3 separate regions of the Homo sapiens genome follow, and regions 1 and 2 are each linked to region 3. The links are contacts of gene promoters, found by promoter capture Hi-C in blood cells and fetal thymus (Javierre and others, 2016). All regions are on one chromosome and are shown on one strand. Each heading gives the region's core, a stretch centred on a gene start or on the middle of the fragment in contact. The rest is flanking DNA. Distances are from core to core; before and after follow the strand shown.

The links. The method cuts DNA at HindIII sites, captures the fragments that hold promoters and counts their contacts. A CHiCAGO score of 5 or more calls a contact.
Region 1: a fragment that was not itself captured here is called in contact with the fragment with the promoter of RRAGD in region 3 in 1 of 17 cell types (naive CD4 T cells); the score reaches 6.2 in naive CD4 T cells.
Region 2: a fragment that was not itself captured here is called in contact with the fragment with the promoter of RRAGD in region 3 in 1 of 17 cell types (total CD4 T cells); the score reaches 5.3 in total CD4 T cells.

The regions. Positions count from the first base shown.
Region 1 is chr6:90,539,656-90,543,398 of GRCh38, reverse strand. All of the region lies in intron 12 of MAP3K7 (mitogen-activated protein kinase kinase kinase 7), which reads left to right. Among named protein-coding and RNA genes, the nearest start is that of MAP3K7, 46 kb to the left of the region's middle. RefSeq lists a silencer at 1,863-2,063. The HindIII fragment of the contact is 1,080 bases long and covers 1,311-2,390 here.
Region 2 is chr6:90,522,181-90,525,763 of GRCh38, reverse strand. It overlaps MAP3K7 (mitogen-activated protein kinase kinase kinase 7), which reads left to right. Exons shown (of 17, transcript NM_145331.3): 14 at 1,981-2,086. Among named protein-coding and RNA genes, the nearest start is that of MAP3K7, 63 kb to the left of the region's middle. The HindIII fragment of the contact is 5,232 bases long and covers 1-3,583 here.
Region 3 is chr6:89,410,767-89,414,144 of GRCh38, reverse strand. RRAGD (Ras related GTP binding D) reads left to right here and starts at 1,872. Exons shown (of 7, transcript NM_021244.5): 1 at 1,872-2,299. The coding sequence starts at 2,152. RefSeq lists silencers at 1,456-2,645, 2,676-2,785, 2,816-2,915. The HindIII fragment of the contact is 2,415 bases long and covers 973-3,378 here.

The DNA of each region.
Region 1 (3,743 bases), core at 601-3,100, 1.1 Mb before region 3:
GAGAAACTAGCATACAAAAATATGAATTATACTATTCTTAGGTGCCATTTTGTCTGTATAAAACTATCTTATATTAATTTTCCCCTGGTTATCAAAGTGGTTTCTTATTTTACAACATCATTACTATTGCTATTCAAAGAGTAGAGTTAACCCATTTTTCACATGGTAATTTTTATTTATTGAATCTGGACTGCTTCAGAAATTAACAAAGAGATCATTTTACATGGAGATCAGTTTACCTCCATGCGGAAAGGTACTGTGTATAAGGGACGTACTTTAAAGAGGTGGAAGCATTTAAACTTACATACCGCTGAACTGTGCTTCCCTTAAATGTTTGAGGGAATCAGGAAAATTTAGACAGATGGCAGTGTAATCTTATGACTAAGCATTAAGAATAAATTTATATATGGCAGCGTAGCCCACGCTATACAAGATAATGGGGGAGGGAAAAATAAGGAAAGAATAATAGTTTATAACTGTCAGGTACTACTGGCATCTAGTGGGCAGAGACCAGGGATGCTGCTAAACATCCTGATGTGTACCAGGCAGTCTTCTCCAACAAAGAATGATCCAGCCCAAAATGGCAGCAGTGCTGAGGCTGAAAACCCCTGATTAGATGTTCTTTGTGCCCTACAAAGTAGCTTAAAGTACATCTTATTTTACCTTTATACAATCTTACAACTAGGTTATCGGATGAAATTATAGCTGTTTAACAGACGAAGAACTTAGATCTGATGATGTTTAGTGGTTTTTCCAGAATCATATAGCCAGGACCCCAACCCAGATCTTCTGACTCCAAGTCACATCCATTTTTTGTTCTTTTGTTTAAGTCAGAGAAGCTAGAGTAATTTCTTCTTGCTTTCTCTTAGTGTTCACATTAAGGAGAGCTCTTCAGCCAGGGAGATCCTCTTTTATGACATTGGGCCTTTATGGAATCAGGTAACCTTAATTCTCTTAATTGCCAGAGCAGCAGTGCTATTCATATGAAAATATTATTCAGTAATACCTTTTATTAAATATTCTTTTTAGGCTTTTCCCCCCTCAGATATCAAACATTAACTTACTCAGGTGCACTTTCTTTAATAGAAGAATACAAGCTGTAGAATTGACACTAGTGGACATAAAAGCCAATCATGAATGTGCTCATAGGTAATGTTTTTAAATTAAATATAAAAATACCGCCCATCCTTTGGGAATATCTCAAATTTCCTACATGACATTTTAATTGTAAAGAAGGGTGATACTTAATTTCCAAAATTTCTTAATACTTTCTAGAAATTGTTTTGTTCTAAGTGGATTTCCCACAAGCTTTATGGTATTAGCAAATACTTCTTGATATATTCAAACTGTTTAATTAGCATTAAAACCCAATTGCAAGGATTCTTTTTAAATATAGCTTTTTAAAGATCTTATTTACATGGATAAGAGTTTCGTTAATACTTCCCTTTGGCCAAGTGCAATGTACTGAGTCTAATGTACTTCTTGGAATGAACTACCTCTCTTAATAAGAGCAATCCTTCAAGCATCACAAAAAAGGTTTTGTATATATATCTTTAAAGTCACTAAAATGTCTAACCTAGTCATAGGTAAAGAAATGCAAAGACCCTAATCTTGTAATCTTGTTTTTTGCTCGCTCTTCAAAATGTGTATACTATGCCATCAGTCAAATGTGGAAGAAAAAGCAACTTAGCAAAACAGCACTATTTATCAATTTAGTAGTCTCTCAGATCATACAGAAATTAACCTTTAATACCTTAGGACTCCCTGTGGGTCAGACTGTACAATTTTTTATACCTCTTCTACCATATTACTGGCTCTGAAGAACTGACAAACTTTTGTACGGTAACCCTTCCTTCTTTCCACTGTCCATCTGCCCTTAAAAGAGTGAGCTTTATAGATTAGCCTGGCTCCTTTTTACCAAGGAAGACACGCAGCTAAGAGCAAATTACCAGTAGAGTGTGTGACATTTTGCTGACTCTTCCTTTGTAGAGAAGGTCCTGCCAAGTAGCAGTGTGCTACCTAAGCAAAGTAAATGTAAATGTGGAAGTTTCTTGCCCAGTATTTAGACCATATGAACTACAGTTTTCTAATGCATTTGCTTGCTGGTAAGTTGGAAGGGACTTCGAGAAAAGAAATAGATTTTCTTAAATGTTTTTTATTAAAACTTGAGTTTTAAAAACCATATCCTTTCTCCTTTCAGCCAGTACATCTAATTTGTTACATTTATATTTGAAGAAAAGGGAATAGGTAGCAGATTATTGGATTCTTTGAAGTTTTTCTAGATTTTTTTTGTTCTAGGACTTTAATAAGGGCAGTAAGAACACAGATCATTGTTTTGCATGGATTTTCTTTACTTTTTCCCATATTTTCTTTTTGTCACTATCTAAGCTTCCAAGAATCTATTTTTCACCCACCTTCATCTCAAGTACACAAATGAAATAGATTATTGGGATTGTGAAACTATGTAAGACATTCTAATGCAGTTCATCTGATGTTAGAAGAATACCTAAATTTTACATTTCTTTTAAAAATCCAAATGTCAAAGAGGAACAGGTAGAATGCCTAAATATTACAAAAAAAGAGGAACAACCTTTTTCAGTTTAACATGTAGAGTAAGAGAATAAGTAGTTAAGAAAGCGAATTATTTTTCATGCTTGTAGCATCAGTAATGGAAGATGGGTTGTTCTGCTCTGGAGCCTTTGTGTGAGTAGTTATAGCATTTAAGGAAATAAACTGTAATTATAATGCATTCTAAAATCTACTGGAAAAAAATACTGTCATATACATATATACTTACCACCTATAAAAGATTTAATTAAACATTAGTCTTCTGCACTTCTACTCTGATATAAAATTTGTTGTACATGGTTCATACCGGCTTGATTGCTTTTATAAAGTGAAATGAGTTTCCCAAATGTGATATGCAAAAGTAAAATTTTCTAAATTACAGACATTTTTAATGCTATTATATCATCATAGATAAATTTATTTCTTAGTTCAGATTAGATTATAATGCTTGATTTCAAGTACTTGAAAACCATCCATTCTATAGATGAACATTGCCTTGAAGTGCTTCAATTTGAGAACCTTGAACAGTGTTGCTTTAGTGTACCTTTTGTTATTTCTAAGCCTAAAATAATATGGCATAACATTCGAGAGCAATAAAATGCCTTGACCAAAGAGGATTTTCTGTCTTACATACTGTTCTTAAGGATATGCAAAAGAAGATTGAATATACAAATGTTTTTGAGTCAGATCTTACTGAAATAGATAAGATTTTTGCCTAGTTTCCTGAAGAACCTGAACTTAATTGATATTTATTGTTTGTTATATCATTCTTAAAGCTAAAAAGAAACCTTAGGTGTCCTTATGATTTCAGCCGCATTTAGATCTCTTAACTGAATAAAAAACGCGTATTCGCTTTTAATTTCAGTCAAGGACGTTTAGCTCTATTGTATATTGGTTTTTTACTAACAGTATGATAAGTAGTAAATTGGAGTAAGTAGAATGTAGAGAGGCCCAAACATTTTAACTGAAAAATAGATGAGTAGTTAGGCTTCTAATACTTGTATCTTGTTGCCCTCCTTCAGAAGTTTCAAATGTCAGGTATTGGCAAATAAATTATCTAGGTGGGGAGGGCTTTATAGAATGCTTAAACAACTGGAAGCAGAGATGCTTTTCAAGGACACCTGAGCACTATTTTGCTTTCTCCACCAGGATGAAAATATCACTTTTTTAATAGT
Region 2 (3,583 bases), core at 887-3,386, 1.1 Mb before region 3:
AGACCCTGGCTCTACAAAATATTTTAAAATTAACTGGGCATAGTTGTGTGTGCCTGTAGTCCCAGTTACTCGGGAGGCTGAGATGGAAGGATCGCTTGAGCCCAGGAGTTTGAGGGTACAGTGAGCCATGATGGTACCACTGCACTCCAGCCTGGGCAACAGAGCAAGACCCTGTCTTTAAAAACAAATCTCACTGTGATGGTGGATATGTCCTTTTTCCTTGCAGTTTTTTGATTTATCTATTTGTATGTACAGCATATAAATTTTGAATCGTTGGCCAGGCACAGTGGCTCATGCCTGTAATCCCAGCACTTAGGGAGACTGAGGCAAGAGGGTCACTTGGGGCCAGGAGATTGAGAGAAGCCTGGTCAACATAGTAAGACCCATTTCTACAAAAAAAAATTAGTTTTTAAAAAATAAATTTTGAATTGTTGTATTCTGAATTGAACCACTTATCATATTATCTCTTTCTCTAGTAATTTTTTGGACCCTAAAATACATTCTCTCTGATATTAATATAGGTACCTTATTTGGGGTAGTTTTTGCCTGGTTTTCTTTTTTTATCCTTTAACTTTCTGTTTTCTCTGTCTCTGTAAATTAGATATGTCTCTTATAAATAGCATTTAATTCATCCTGACAATCTGATTTTTTTTTAAATATCTTAACTGGAGAGTAATTCATTTACATTTATTGTGGTTACTGATAAGTTTGCTCTCTTATGTTTTATTTCTCTTTCTTTTCTTTCAAGTTTTGAGTTGAATAAATTTATTCTTCATTTTATTATTTTCTTTCTGGTTTGGGAGTTATATATTAATTACTACTTTTAGTAAATACCTTTGAAATTTTAACATTCATGCCCAACCTAGTAAAGATCTGTACCCTCATCCTGAACAATATTTAAAACAAGGAGTTTTAAGTCAGTGCTTTTCATGCTTGTGCTATTGTTATTATAATTTTAGTGCCATCTTGTTTGTTTGATAATTCTATAAATTCACTGTTTCTGTCACTGAATGTTTTCAGTGTGTAGATTTATTTCCCTGTTTATCACTATTCCTTATTGCATCTTGATCCTTCTATCAAGTAAAATTTTTCTTCTTCCAAAAATACATGCTTGAAAAACTTATGTGGTAAGAATGTATGGAAGGTAAACTCAGTTTTTGCCCATCTAAGAATGTTATTTTGGCCTCTATCTTCAAATTTTGTTGGCTAGACAATTCTAGACTGGCAGTTATTTTTCAGCACTTTGAAGATATTGTTCTGCTTTCTTCTGGCTGCTTTTTCTGTCTCCTGTTGATTGTTTCCTAGAATTTGAATGTATACGTTCCATGTTGAACTCAATTTGTGAGCTTCCTCCTATTTCTTATGCTGGGGATTTGTTGTGGTTGGAATTTGTTGTAACCTGCATCCAATCTGGAAATTTTTTGTGGATTCACAGTTAATACATTTCTCCCTTCCACCCAGAGCCACTAACCCAAGAGAGACAAATTTGTTTCCTGTCTGCTTTTGTAGGTCAGATTTTTTTTTTCCTAGTTGAGTGACCTTTTCTCTGAGAGTGAAGCCTTTGCTGAGTTTTAGCTTTAAGCAGAGGTTTCTCCAGTCTTACTTCCATCCTACAAAGGCCCAAGGCTTTATGGTCCATTCCTCTGAGTGCAGCAGCCTGTGAAAACAGTAGCTCTAGGCCATTGGTGTTTAGTTGAAATTCCGAGGGCTGTCAGCTTAAGCACTTACTAGTTTCCTGATATTGTTTTGTTTCTAATCTCAGAGTATTTCTTAGTTTCTTGCAAGCTCATCAGTTTTTAATAGGTATCATGCGTGAGTGAATATAAATTTTTACATATATATAAGAGAGGATTTATTTTGTTGTTTACAAGAGTTTTGGGGGGATCTCTAAGTCTCTTCTTGCCTTTTAATGGAAACGTTCTCGTCATTTTTTTTAATCAAAAAATCACATTTTGTTTCTCCTGTGACTTCTTCCTGTAGGTGAGCAGTAGGTCATCCAGTCCCAGTGTCAGAATGATTACTACCTCAGGACCAACCTCAGAAAAGCCAACTCGAAGTCATCCATGGACCCCTGATGATTCCACAGGTGACCAGTCTGTTTCTTCATACTTATGAAGTTGAATCAGTCATGTTTATATTCATTTGGCCATGTCATTACTCTAATGTTTACAAAGGCAGGCATTATACTGTTGTTTAGATTTTTATATTAAATAAACTATTTAGTAATACATGTTAAAATACCATTTTGAATACAGAGACAGAGACTGCCTTGCCTTCTGTATTTTTTTTAATCCAGATACTAAACATGTATTTTAAAGATTGTCTGTTTGGGGTTTTTTTCCAGTTGCGAAGCGTATTGAATTCTTGATACTTCAGCCTGTGATTTTCCTACTAGATTCATCCTACTAGATGATAGTAGTAAAGTCATTTTTTCAGTAACCAAAATCGGAGAATGGTAAAAATCATCCCCATCATCTTCATCTCAATCTTTTAAGGACACGAGATGTCATGTACCTTAAGTTGAAAAAAATTCTGACCATTGACCTTTTGAATTGTTTTTAACTGATAAGAGACACCATTTTCAGTTATACAAATATTCTATTAGACCTTTAGAAACCTGTGATGAGTTATTAAAGCTCCCCAACATGAATAACTAACTGTTCACAATATTAGTATTAATGTCTACCTGCCTAAAGGTAGTGACGGCATCGTTTCATTATGGGCAAACAGGAAATGATGTGCCATAGTAGAATTAACTTTTCCCTAACTTTAAGAGAATACCTTGATAAATGCTTTTAAGTGTACTTATGAAATTTTTTATTTATATTATATTAAGTCACGAAGGGAAAGATGATCTCTTAGCCCTTGGAAAATTAAAGCATTTGATATTTTATATAAGATCGACTATGTTATTAATAGTAACAATTAGATTGAAGTTTAAAAGCCAGCTTTCTGTCTTTACAAACTAAAATACAACTCAAGTATTTATAGTTATCTGATGTGGTTTGGTCAAGTTTATAATTTAATTTAAAAAATTAACTGGGTGGTTTTTCTGTGTGTCATGTAAGATAGAACTATGTTTAGCCAGGGTGTACTCTCTAGTTTTAGTAAGTTTAAATTTAGTGGCGGCAAAAACTCCTGTTTCACCCCTAGCACAGCCCAACCTAGGACTGTCCAGAGCATTCACCACTACGCAGCACATGTGTAGAATTCATTATAGACTTGCTCCTCCCCAGTGGTAGACAGGGCAATGCTCTTGCCCAGTTTTATCATTAACATTCAGGTGATAGCAGCTCTTTTTGATTTCTGAACCCCCTGGCAAGGGAGTACGTTCTCTGACATTACAGCATTTGCCCGGGTCTGGTACTCAACTCAGCAGAGCCTTCTGTCTTCAGTCTACACTAATCTGTATATGCCAGTCAATAGTGTGGCAGATTGTGACTTCATGGGGGTAAAATAAAAAATGTTTAAGGCTCTCTCTCACATAACTGCTACATTTCTGCCTCATATGTTGCTTCTACCTTCCAACTCCCGTCCCATTGTTTTCTTTTTCTGTACCTAGAAACACCACAAAATACCAATT
Region 3 (3,378 bases), core at 623-3,122:
CGGGTTTAGAAGGGCATAAGTAACTTGCCTCTGATGGGAGTATGTAGTGCCTGCTTGTGTTGGTGATGCTCCTTGCACCTCACCCCACCCAGGGACCCACTCCCTGCCCTCCCTATCCAATCTCTGTCCTGGACTAGGTTCCAGGCTCCCTTGCCTTCTGGCTACCAGATGGGTTTGGCCAATGGGAGACACAGGAGAGTGGAGGGAGGATGGATGGAGAGAAAGAGAGGTCTTTGCTCTCTCCTTGATGTGAGGCCGTTCTGGCAGCAGCAGCTTCCTCATCAGTTACAGCTCCTGTTTTGTGGCCCCTCTCCAGGACTCTAGCTCCCTTCCTCACTCCTGTAAATTTAGGGGTGGTGTTATCTTCCCACTATCGCTAATACCTGCATTGATTCCCTAAACTCTGTCCACACCCCTGTAAATTGTTCCTTCACTTGAAGGCTTCAGTTAAAGTCTTTGCACATACCGTCTGTTTCATCCTGGGAAGAACCTTAACTGATACAGTCATACCAAATTATACTGCCTGCCTCCCTTGGAAAATCTCAGGACCTTTCCCATTAGAAGCAGCCACCTTCTGGAAAGTGTCTGCATCCACCTTCTGCACTCAGAAATACTAAAAAAAATCCAGGACATGAGTCATGATTTGGTAGACTGTGAGCTCCTTCAGGGCAGGAACACTGCCCTGAGCATTCTTGGACCCTCTACTTAGCCCAGCCTCAGGCATATAGGAGGTGGTTAATAAATGTTTCCTATGGAGGTTAGCACCCTTGGGCCCTGAGAGTCTCCTGCCCTAGCTTCCTCCCTCCGCTTCTGCACCGCACCACCGGCTGAGCTGCTGGCACCTGTAGGAGCTGGATCATCATGCTGACCGGCCGGTTTTTTCTTATTGTGCTCCACAGAAGGAAGTTCATCCACGTAATTTTTTGCAGTACCCAGAAAGGGTGGGTACAGTGTGTTCCGTGGTGAAAAGCTTGTGAAGGAGGAATGCAGGTTTTAGAGTCTCACTCCACGTTGCTGCTATTCCTATTTGAGAATTGCCCCCCCACCACCGCCACTCCCCTACTCCCACAAAAGCCTTGAAATATTTTATTCATGTGGGATTACAGTCTATGCAACAATGAGACATGAGGAGGTGGCCATGAATAGCCCCCGAGTGTGTTATACACTGAGACCTTTTCCAAAGGGCTGCAGAGGAATTATTTAGTCTAAGCAGCCACGAGTCATGTGATTTCTTCAGAAACATTTACGTCTGGGTAGGCCTGCTTTTTAAATATTCTTGGTGGGAAGCACTTTGAACCATAAAGGCACACTAAAAGACAATTGCTATGGAGACTGCGCCTCCACTGTGCATTTATCTGAGTTCTCCGCCTGGGGCTCTTGAGCGTCCACAGGGTGTCCTGGGCACGCTGCTCTGGGGTGGGGGATCTGGGCGCCACAGTGTTGGGAGGCCACCCGCTTGGGACCCTAGCTCAGGACTGTAAGCAGGAGGCATCCGCCCACGGTAGACGCTCTGCGGGCGTGTGGGAGTGGGACGGCGGGGGGGACATTGAGGGTGTGCGGCGCCCCCTCCCCTGCCTGTGCGGGGACCACGTGAAGGAGAGGCGCGTGGGGGCCCCTGGCGCGCAGCCGCGGTGGGTGACGGCCGGCGTCCCGGGGGCCCCGTGTACGGGGCGTGTGTCGGTGTGAGTCTGGGAGGGTGCAGGGGCCCCGCGCCTCCCCGGTCTCCTCGTGCGTGTGCGTGTGCGTGTGCATGTGTGTCCTCGGCCCAGCGCCCCGCCGAGTGGTGCCCGCGGCCGGGCGAGCGCGCGCGCGCCCGTGCGGGGTGTGTATGTGAGTATGTGACAGTGTGTGTCAGGTGACTCGGGTCACGCAGTCTCTCTCTCTCTCCCTCCTCCGGGAGGAACTGCCGCGCTCCGGCTGACTCCTCCGCCGGCGGGCGGGGCGGGGGAGGGGGCTTCGGGCGCGCTGGGAACCGCGGGACCCGGACCTGGGCGCCGCCCGCCGGGGGACGCGCGGCCCCCGCTTCCGCCGGGCCCCGCTGAGCTCTAGACAAACCTCCGCTTCAGAAATAGGCTGCGGGCGGCCGGCTAGGAGGCTTGGCCCCCACCCCGGGACCCCCGCCGTCCCCGGGCCGGCCGGCCGGTGGGCACGATGAGCCAGGTGCTGGGGAAGCCGCAGCCGCAGGACGAGGACGACGCGGAGGAGGAGGAGGAGGAGGATGAGCTGGTGGGGCTAGCGGACTACGGAGACGGGCCCGACTCCTCCGACGCCGATCCGGACAGCGGCACAGAGGAGGGAGGTGAGCGCCCGGCCCCCGCGTCCTCGGCTCGCGCCCCTTTCCTCCCCTTGGCGCCTTCCCGCCCCCAGCCCGGCCGTGCGCGAGCCACCGACTTGGAGGGGGTCCAGGGGAGCGGGTCCAGTTGAGGGTTTGGGGTGGGGAGGGACGCCAAAAGCCCGACCTCGAGCTGCCAAATGAGGGAGCGCGGTGCTGGTGGCGGAGGGGCAACCAGGATCGGTGGAAAAGGGGAAGGAGGGAGTAAGCGTCTGGGCTGGAGGAGCGCGCGCTTCTGCCCCTTTCAGAGCCGGTGCCTCCCGCGCCCCTCACCCCAAGCTCTCCGCAGCGTCTGGCGGTTGGGGAGGGGAGGGGACCGCGGGCGCGCCCTGGGACCTCTCTCCCAGAACGGTGCTGTTGAAGCCAGGGTCAGATGTCGTGGCTAAAAAAAGGCAGCCGGCGGCGGCGTGACTGGCAGGGTCGTCGGCAGCTGCGGGTGTCAGTCTCGCCCCGCGTCGCCGCGGGAGGGGCCCACCCAGGTAGTGGCTGGGGAGACCCGCGGGGCGGCGGGGGGATGCTCGCCAAGCTGTTGTGGGAGTCTCCGAGAGGCCGCAGATTTCCCGGGATCCACGCAAACACCGTTGTCAGGACACCTTATCTGCTCTCGGTATCACCACCTGGACATGGCAGTGCCTGCCCGGGAGTGAGCGCGCGGCGGGGAATTCTTTGCTTCAATAGTGAAGCAAACTCTTTTTCCTGTTCTAGAAGCGGGTTTTAGCAATCGTTCAGCTTGTGGGGGCTTCCTGCATTTTCTTAAGGTGTAAGGAAGTTGAGAGCCTTTTAGTATTCCAGAGAGGTTAAACTTTTTTTAGTTTCCCTCAGAAGCGAGCAAAAGTTCCTTTACTGTAAGGTCACTTGGAAAGGTCAATAGAAAGCGGCTGTTAAACATGATGTTATTCTCAGTGAAACTGTATGCATCCAAGAGAAGGAACTAACTTTAATGTTTCACACTGAAGAAATTGTGTGAGAGATACAAGTACCTTTGTGACTATTGATTTTTAAAGAACTTTTATTGAGAATTCACTGAACTTATTTTAAATTCTCTA